Regions from separate parts of the Homo sapiens genome. Here region 1 is linked to region 2. The links are contacts of gene promoters, found by promoter capture Hi-C in blood cells and fetal thymus (Javierre and others, 2016). All regions are on one chromosome and are shown on one strand. Each heading gives the region's core, a stretch centred on a gene start or on the middle of the fragment in contact. The rest is flanking DNA. Distances are from core to core; before and after follow the strand shown.

The links. The method cuts DNA at HindIII sites, captures the fragments that hold promoters and counts their contacts. A CHiCAGO score of 5 or more calls a contact.
Region 1: a fragment that was not itself captured here is called in contact with the fragment with the promoter of OR4S1 in region 2 in 1 of 17 cell types (M2 macrophages); the score reaches 5.3 in M2 macrophages.

What each region holds. Positions count from the first base shown.
Region 1 is chr11:49,519,061-49,523,955 of GRCh38, reverse strand. No RefSeq gene overlaps it. Among named protein-coding and RNA genes, the nearest start is that of FOLH1, 310 kb to the right of the region's middle. The HindIII fragment of the contact is 4,359 bases long and covers 261-4,619 here.
Region 2 is chr11:48,304,839-48,309,939 of GRCh38, reverse strand. OR4S1 (olfactory receptor family 4 subfamily S member 1) reads right to left here and starts at 3,717. Exons shown (of 1, transcript NM_001004725.1): 1 at 2,788-3,717. The coding sequence starts at 3,717. The coding sequence ends at 2,788. The HindIII fragment of the contact is 12,544 bases long and covers 1-5,101 here.

The DNA.
Region 1 (4,895 bases), core at 1,191-3,690, 1.2 Mb before region 2:
ATAACTTCAAGAACCTGGAAATATAATTTATAGCAGAAACTTTTTATCTCTAAATTATTCATTAATTTATATTCAACTCTGTCACATAGAGTTAACAAGACTTCCAAAAATTATGCTAATAAAGCCATTGCTTAGGAAGCTTCCTTATTATCACCACTTAAATTATAATCAAAATGAGCTATTTCAATGAAATTATCTCACAGTTTGCAAGTTTCTCTTCATTATACCCAGGAACCAAATGCATATGTCAAGGAAAAGCTTAGGTGAGACTTTCCTATTTAGCTTTTAGAAATGTTGACTTTCCAAGGACAAATTGGTATTATAGAATTGTTTAACAACTCTCAGATTATTTGCATCTATACAATGGAAGTGTGAAGCAGCTTCCATATGCAAAGAGATAATGATGGTTCTGTACCTACAGCTAGTTTGAAAATGTTCATTTCAATAAGCATGTCCTCTGTGACTGGGTGTGGTGTCTCACACCTGTAATCCCAGAACTTTGGGAGCCGAGGCGGGAGGATCATTTGAGGCCTGGAGTTCCAGACTAACCCAGGGAGCATAGTGAGATCCTGTTTCTATAAAACAAAACAAAAAATAAGTATGTTCTCTGAGTTGGGCTGTGATTGGTTGTGGCACTGGGGATGAGGGGAAAGGACTAAAAATAAAGGTAACATTTGAACCCTATCCAGGAAGAATGTATGCTTCGAATGAAGAGACTAATTTATTACATATTAAATAACTGATAATTTTTTCAAGAAAATTCACTAGGGAATGATAATATGTTGCTTTCATGATGTAAATGGATACCAATTCCTGAGTGATTTCTACTGCCAGGCACTATGAAAGAAAATTTTCATAGACTATTGTATTTAATCCTCACAACAGTTCTATAAAGTATTTATTATTTACTTTCATCTTATGAGTGAGGAAACCCAGATTCTGTCATGGTCATGGATATTTTGGGAATGAAAGGTATGGGCTTTCAGTTTGAGTGTATGAAGTTCTTGGCTTCCTCTCTTTCAATCTGGGATCCAGTGGGTCTTTGAAATATTATCGTCTAGAACAAATATGAAATTACTTCCACCTATCAAAATCATATAATGTCTTACAGTGCCTGCTATGTCTTATTCACTCTAAAATTGCCTTGTTGGATGATCAATGTATCAGTTAGGAGTGTTTGGGGATGCAGGTAAAGAAAACCTGTTAAACGATGACTTAAGTGACTTAAGATACATGGATTACAGCTCTCACATAACAAGCAGTCTGGCAGCAAGATGCTGCCAGTATGGTTAAAAGATTCAGTGAAAGCTGAGCCAACATTATATTGTTCTCTTTGCTGTTTCCCATGGTGACATGAATGCTGCCCCCACTTCAAGTATCATATTTTCACGGCAGTAAGAATGAGTAAAGGGATCAGTTCATCTCTGTGGGTCTCCAGGTAGCTAAAATCACAACAATAATAACCATAATAATAACTTCAATGCATTTGTTGCTGCCTGTTTGCCAGGTTGTGTAATATTTTTCTATGGTTTTTCACATAACTCTTATAATAAAATGAGATGGCACTGTTATTATTATCCTCATTTTACATATTATAAAATTGAGACACAGAAAAGTAATGTCATATAGTCAAGGTCCTATAATTAGTAATAATGAAAAGCAAGATTGCAGCTCTGTTCTTTCTGGCTCTAAATGTGGTGTTTTTAATCCTGTGCTATGCTGATTCTTACAATCAGTAGATAAGGGCTTGAATATATGGTTATGCATCTAACCTTTAGAGCCTATTTGAGATGTCTCCTTCTACATCAATCCCTTCATAACCCACCACACTTTCAAATTCCCTTTCCCCTCTTTTCATTTGCTATGTATTTGTCACATCTTTTACAGCACTGTATTCTTTATTCTATTAGTCATTTACCACATTTTCTTATTTCTCAGATTCAGTTCTAAGAACCTAGTAGGCAGGATCCATGTCCATTATTAAGCTCCAGCATGCCACAGGTGTTTAGTAAATGTGTGTTGAGAAGTCAGCTGAAACCCCTCTCCTCTGGTCCTGCTACTTGCTACCTAAACTCTCTCAGTGCCATTTTAAAAAGTATGCTGAAGCTGAGATTTCCTTTGGCTAAGTCCTATTGCTTGGCTTCTTTTTTGACTAGATATGCAAGTCATTAAATATAATATATGATTTTTGGAAATATAAATAGGGATACAGTAAGTCAATGACTGTTATACTCAGCTATTCTCACTAATAATCTATAAAGTAAAAAACACAGCCTTTTTTCCCCCTTCATGACTTCTCAACACACATTTACTAAACACCTGTGGCATGCTGGTGCTTAATAATGGACATGGATCCTGCCCACTAGCTTCTTAGAATTGAATCTGAGAATTCTATAAAACAATTAAGTAGTCTGTCTTTGTGGTATATGAAATATTTGTAATTTATAAGGTACTGATCCTTTTAGAATCAATGTAATAATAATTGTCCCTATCTCGTTGCACATGACATCTCCTTACTCTAGAGCTTTTCTTATATATTTAATATTCATCAGGTGTCTTCACAGTGCTGTCTCATCTGTTAATTATTTCCTTTACCCATAAAATATTTAATAACATATTCTGTGTATGTCACTGTATAAGACACTGGGAATATAAAAATATTTTAGTATAACTATCAAGAAGAATCATATTCAAGGCACATTAACAGGCAAAGGAAGGAGTTGATGTTCATTAGGGTGGTATGGAAGGCATTATAGAAATTATGTGAAGAACATCTTGAAGGAGGATAAGAATGTTATCAGATAGACAAGGAGGTAATAGGATGAAGGAAAAATTAGATATAAAGATGTTAAAAAATATGACACTTTGGGGAAATGTAAATAATTATATGGGTGCTAAGTATGAATGGCAACAAAGGAGTGTAAAAGCCAAGTTAACACAGTAAGTTTTCAATAAGTCATTGTACAACATACCAGTTCAAGGTGCTTTCAGTCCTTCTGCAGACAACAGTTCAGGGAAAATTAAGTAGCAGGAACCATGTCTAGATGCTATTGTTGTTTAGTGATCATAATGGATTCTACCATTTTCTTTTCTTTTCTTTTCTTTTTTTTTTTGAGGTGGAGTCTCGCTCTCACCCAGGCTGGAGTGCAGTGGCGCGATCTTGACTCACTGCAACCTCCCGCCTCCCAGGTTCAGGCAATTCTCCTGCCCAGAAACTAGCTGGGACCACAAGCGCACACCACCACACCCGGCTAATTTTTGTATTTGAAGTAGAGACGGGGTTTCACCATGTTGGTCAGGCTGGTCTTGAACAGCTGACCTCAAGTGATCCACCCACCTCTACCTCCCAAAGTGCTGGGATTACAGGTGTGAGCCTTACTCCCGGCCTTCCACTTCAATTTTTATCAGGTGAGACAATAAGACAGGGTGATGCTCAGATCAGTTTCACCACATACCATTATTCTGGACATGTGGTATATTAGTTATCTATTTTTGGTGAGTAGAATACCCCCAACACTTATCAGCTTAAATCAGCATTTTATTCATATTAATAGTTTATGAGAATCAGGGATCCTGGAGCAGATTTGTGAAGGGTTTGAACTCAAGGTCTCACACAAGGTGGCAGTCAAGCTGTCAGCTGGGGCTGCAATCATCTGGAGGGTTGACATGGGCTACAGAATGTGATTCAAATATCAATTGTATAGGTTTGTTTATAACGAGAGAGAGAGAGAGAGAGAGAGAGAGAGAATTTTCAATGTCTTTTATGTCCTATAGATTCCAAAGTCTCACCCTGTCTCTTCTGTTTTATTCTATCAGACACACAGACCTTCCATAATAGAATGTGGGAAGGGAATACACAAGGACATGAGTACTAGGAGGTGGGGATTAGTTGGGGGTATCTTACACGATTATTACCACAGTGTGCCCTCTGGCTGTAATGATATGCATACCTCCCACATGTGAAACACACACTCCTATATACATTTACAATTCCTTTTCAATAGAAGAGAGAAATGAGTGGCACATAGTAGTCTTGGTTTCTAGCAATTCTGAGATCCAACTGGGAATATGTAGCAAGTTCTTTGATTAAGTCTCAGTTTGCTTCTGCCCAGACGTCATAGCCCTTGGCTTTCCCTTCTGGATCTTATTTCCACTGAGCCACTCTTCCTTTTATAGGAGATGCAGGTAAGTAGTCCTTCCAGCCTATTTCCTGCTAGGAGAAATTTGGCAGGCCCAAAGGCCTTTCATTTTGTACTCCTTCTGTCCCTTTTCATACAAGCCGGCATTGTTTCTATTGATATATTATCTTAAAAACTTTTTAAATCTCTTGTGAATCTTCTTGCAGTTCATTCCATTAGGTGAAATCCACACCCACAGATTTCTCCGAAATAAGCCCTTCTTTACCTTGGATCTCTACAGATAACACTCCTAGAAGCCCAGTCTGTCTGGAAGGACTTTTACCTGACAGAATGGTGTATGTGGAAGTACCATCTTCAAATTATCTAAGATAAACATAATTTTTAAACGTGGTATTTACTGCATCTTTGGACCTTGTTTTCCTTGCTCTTTGTTCAGAGGCCATGTCTTAATTTTAAAATCTTTTGCTACCTGTGGAAGCTTAAAAATTTAAAACTATGAAATCTCAACTTTTTACACATATATTAGCCTTTCCTTTTATTTACTTCTCTCATTTCTCATTTACTATAAGTAGCAGGAAAAAAAGAACACACGCTCAACATTTCAATGAACACTCTTCTTAATATCATTTCAGCTTGTAACCACTTCCTAGTTTTCAAGTTTTTAGATATTTGTTATGATAGCATACCCACATTGCAGTAGCAGAATCAGTATTACTTATCTAGCCTGCATAAAGTATTACTCCAAAATTCAGTGAT
Region 2 (5,101 bases), core at 2,468-4,967:
ATGGCTCTGCAACTGGAACCCTGTTTCCTGACTTTCCATCTAGTGTAATTTCCACTGTATCATACAGCAGTCTCTTCTCTTAATGCCAAGTTCTCATACCTTATGCAGCTCCTCCTGTAGTACTTATCCAGTCTTCTCACTTGTAGCTGAAACTCAGATGACTTTTTTCCCCTGAAGTACATGATCTACTTCCTCCAACCCAATTTCCCCCTCTTCCCTCAACCCAGCATGAAGCAGAAAGAAACATCTGCCATATCAAGCACACCTATGATTTCACACCTTAAAATGGCTCCTGAGTTGGTCAATCTTCTGTAAATAGAAGTCTAGGCAAAGAGTGGGATTCCTGAGTGATTGCTTTCCAGTCACCTCTGATCTGACAAATCCATGATGTAAGTGCTTCAATTTCCTCAAAGAAAAGAGTAGAGGCCAGGCATGGTGGTTCACGCCTGTAATACCACCATTTTGGGAGGCCGAGGCAGGCAGATCACTTGAGGTCAGGAGTTCAGAAACAGCCTGGCCAACATGGTGAAACCCCGTCTCTACTAAAAATACAAAAATTAGCAGGACGTTCGTGGCATGTGCTGCAGTCCCAGCTACTAGGGAGGCTGAGGCATGAGAATTACTTGAGCCTGGGAGGTGGAGGTTGCAGTGAGCTGAGATTGCGCCTTATATACCTGTCTTCATCTTCATGAATATATATATATACATACATGCATGCCTGAATATATATGTAAGACATACATACCACTATCACTCTACTTTAAAATACTGTATGAAAGCAGTAGTGAAAGAGCACTAAACTAGCAATCAGAAGTCTGTGTGTGGCCTATGTACATAGTTTAGCCTGTCTGTATCTCCACTTATCTTTTTTTCTTTTTTTTTGAGATGGAGTCTCACTCTGTCGCCCAGGCTAGAGTGCAGTGGCGCGATCTTGGCTCACTGCAAGCTCCACCTCCCGGGTTCACGCCATTCTCCTGCCTCAGCCTCCCGAGTAGCTGGGACTACAGGCGCCCGCCATCACGCCCGGCTAATTTTTGGTATTTTTAGTAGAGACGGGGTTTCACCGTGTTAGCCAGGATGGCCTCAGTCTCCTGACCTCGTGATCCGCCCGCCTTGGCTTCCCAAAGTGCTGGGATTACAGGCGTGAGCCACTGCGCCCGGCCACTTACCTTTAAACCTGAATAACCATTCATGCATGCTCCCACATTGTTCCAAGGAGTTTTATAAGGGGATTATTTATCCAACACAGATTAAGCTGGTGTATGAAAACTTCTGAGAATATTATGCTTTCAAGGTGTCAACTGCTATTTTATTGCTACTATTTTTTCATAATCAAGATCAACGTTTGCATTTGTGTTTGTTCAGCATCAGATGGTACTAATGAGTCTTCTTTACTACCACCACTCTCACCCAACTCTCATCACATTCCTGATGATTATATCTCATTCATGAAGTTGTTGAAAGGATCAAAAAAGTTAATACAATTAAAATATTTAGAAGAGTGTCTGCAGATTGGAAGAATTCAGTAAGGGTCAGCTTTTACCACACACTGAAATATAAACTCCATGAGAACAAAGAGTTTTGCCTGCTTTCTTTTGTGCTGTACTTCTAGCCCCAGGAATATCACCCAGCAAATGCTAAGTGTTCAATAAACATTTTTGGAGTAAATGAAATAATCAGATAGTTTGGTTACAAGGGCTTTGAGGGAAAGGATAGAGGGGTGAATAGGAAGAGAAAGGGGAATCGAAGATATTATGTTAAAACAGCTAGCAGCCACCATTGAACAACAGACTTTGATTTAGGTCTTTACAAAGTCTTATAGGTCCTCTCACAGCCTTCTGAAGCTGGTATTGTCAATATCTCCTTCTGTAAATGTGGAAATTGAGGCCCAATGAGGTTACATGACCCACGAATGTTTAAGAGATACCTAATCCGGCTCGTTTAATTGCATTCTGTACAAACTTGGCTCCCTCTAGCGGCAAAATGGAGCAAAGCAACAGGGGTTAAAGAGGGCAGCAGTCAGCTGTTCTGCTGGAGAGAGGAATCAGCACCACTGAAAGAAGTGCTGACAACTTGTTCTTCCTGGTTGTTCTCTTCATCATCCCAAGTCATCATCACCATCATTCCTGGTCTTTCAAAAGTTCTTGGTCATTCCTGCTTGGTGTCCATTTAGTCACACTTTATCAAGAGGTCCTGAGGAAAAGCTCTGAAAGCTGACTTAGGGACCTGTGTTCTAGTCCTCACCCTGCTCTGGAGTTAAAGTGTAACTTTTAGTAAATCCCTTGACCTCTCCACATTATTTATTTACTTATTTATTTATTTATCTGCCTGCTGAGAGCATGAAAGGGTAAGAGTAAAGTGGCTCTTTACTCTTAAAAGAAAAGAATGAATTCCATTGAGCACTGTGTTAGCCAACACAAAGGAATTATGTAGTGATTTTATTCATTTATCAATGAGATATCTGGACTTCCAAGACACTCCCTCATTCACAGGCCCTCACACGTTTCCTGAATGAGCTCTTAAATATCGCACTAAAAGCATCCTGGACTGTACTCTCCTTGAGGGAAAGATTATATCTTACTTTTATTTGTATTCTCACTCACTGTAAACATCCAATAAATATTTAATGAATAAAGGATTGAAAGAATATGTGGAATTATTATAACAACAAGAGCTAGGAGGATAATTGCCATTGCAAACATCAGACTGGAAATAAAAAGGCTGTGTTAGATGCTACAAGATGGAAAGTCTCCCAATTTCCTAGCTGGATTGAGATTCTCTGGAATGTCACTTCTCCCCTAAGCTCCTCTTGACCCTAAACAGCTTCCTCATGGCATTTTTCACATCGTTGTTCCTTAGTGTATAGATCAAAGGGTTCAGCAAAGGTGGCATCACAATGTTAAAGAGGATGATAAGTTTGTCAGCAGCCAGGGTGGTGGAGGGACGAATGTACATGAACATGGGGGGCATGAGAACCAAAAGGACAGTGATTACGTGTGAGCCACATGTGGAGACAGCCTTACGCCGGTCCTCAGATGACTGGCTTCTTAGGTTCAGTAAGATGATAACATAGGAAATGATAAGGATAAAAAAGGATGCTAAAGAAATCATACCGCTGTTGGCCACCACGATGAGACCTACCATGTAGGTGTCTGCACAGGCCAACTTGAGCAGGGGATGAACATCACAGAAGAAGTTGTCTATCTCATTGGGCCCACAAAAAGGCAGCTGAACCGTGAGGAGGGTCTGCAGGATGGAATGCAGGAAGCCAGCTAACCAGGAGGCCCCCGCTAGCAGGCCACACTTCCGGCAATCCATGATGGCTGTGTAGTGCAGGGGCCTACAGATGGCCACATAGCGGTCATAGGCCATGGCTGTAAGGAGGAAGATCTCAGTGCCACCAAAGAAGTGGGCAGAAAAGAGCTGGGTCATGCAGCCATTGAAGGAGATGATCTTATGCTCCACAAAAGTGTCAGCAATCATCTTGGGTATGGTAGTGGATGGATAACATATGTCAGCAAAAGACAACTGGCTCAGGAAGAAATACATGGGAGACTTCAGGGTCTTTCTAGCATTGATGGTGATGATGACCAGAAGGTTCCCCAGGACAGTGAGCACATGAAAGAGGAAGAATACCACAAAGCATGTATGCTGCATCTCTCTGCTCTCAAAAAGGCCAAATAAAACAAACTCAGTCACATTGTTCTTGGCACCCATGGATTATCTGCCCTGATGACCGACAAAGTGGCTGGCTGGCTCTGCAAAGACATAAATTATGAGACATAAGAAAGTTTTCTGAGATACCACCAAGATTATGGAGTAAGAAAGATACTAGCCTTCATCCCCATCACAAAAAATACATATATAATATATATAATATATTATTATATATATATATAAATTATATATTATATATAATAATATATATTATATATATATAATATATAATATATATTATAATATATATTATATATATAATATATAATTTATATTATATATAATAATATATATAAATCTATAATATATAAATATATATATCTTAAATATATAATATATAAATATGTATATCTTATATATATATCTCTAGAGCGAGAGAGAGACAGCTATCCACAAACCAAAATAGGTCTGCGAGGGTTCAAGGGCCCATTAAAGAATCTGCAGCAATACAGAGGAGCAAAAACATGGAGAATAGCCGCACACGAAGGATTTCTAGTGATATCTGCATACTTGAGATGCCAGGAGATGGTTAGGAACAAACAGGAAAGGTTGAGGCAATTAGTATCAGCCATGTGGTGGTAGTCATCAAGATCCCTGCTTTGCAGAGAACGCTAGCATTTATGCCACTGAGATAACCAAGAGCCATTCCCACCAGGAAACCCTAGAGAGGGAGACACAACTGTACTGCCTCCACCTGCAAGAAGCAGATGCTATTGAGCTACTTTGGAAAAGGAGCTGCCACCTCCCCAACACCATGCAAACCCCAAACTGCAGCTGCCCCTTGAGAGCTCACACTCAGACCCAGGGTCTGGGACTGCACTGCACCCACCCATGTATCAGACACTGGGCCATCACTAGAGCAAGCTCTGGGCCCTGGAGTCAAGGTCTCTCTGGGCATGCCCACACTTTGGGCACCAGTTCACCCTCCACAGAAAGTTAGTCCCTACCCCAACTCCAGAGCCATTGTAACTCTACATATATCTATGCTCCCATTCTTGGCTCCCTGGCTGCTTCAAAGCATTCACACCTCTAGCACTGTTACCTATGTGGTGGCAGGAGTGTCTTCACCCTAAGCACCAGTGTCATTATCATTCCAGATCCCAGAACCATAGTTCCTTCAGGTGTGCCCATGACCCAAGCCTCAGTTACATGGCTGCACAATAGGTGCCACCCAAAATACACCTGTGCCACCAACATCAAGAGGAAGCACACATACCAGAACCATGTCAAATGGTTCCCTAAGCCACAACTTCCCCAGTGGGAGAAAATTAAATAAGGAAGACCTTAGCAGCCACTACCAGCAACGAGCCTGAAAACCCTTGCTGTCACTGCAAACATCCAAGAATTTGGCCACTGAGGATCCCTCAAATCTGGGTCAACATTG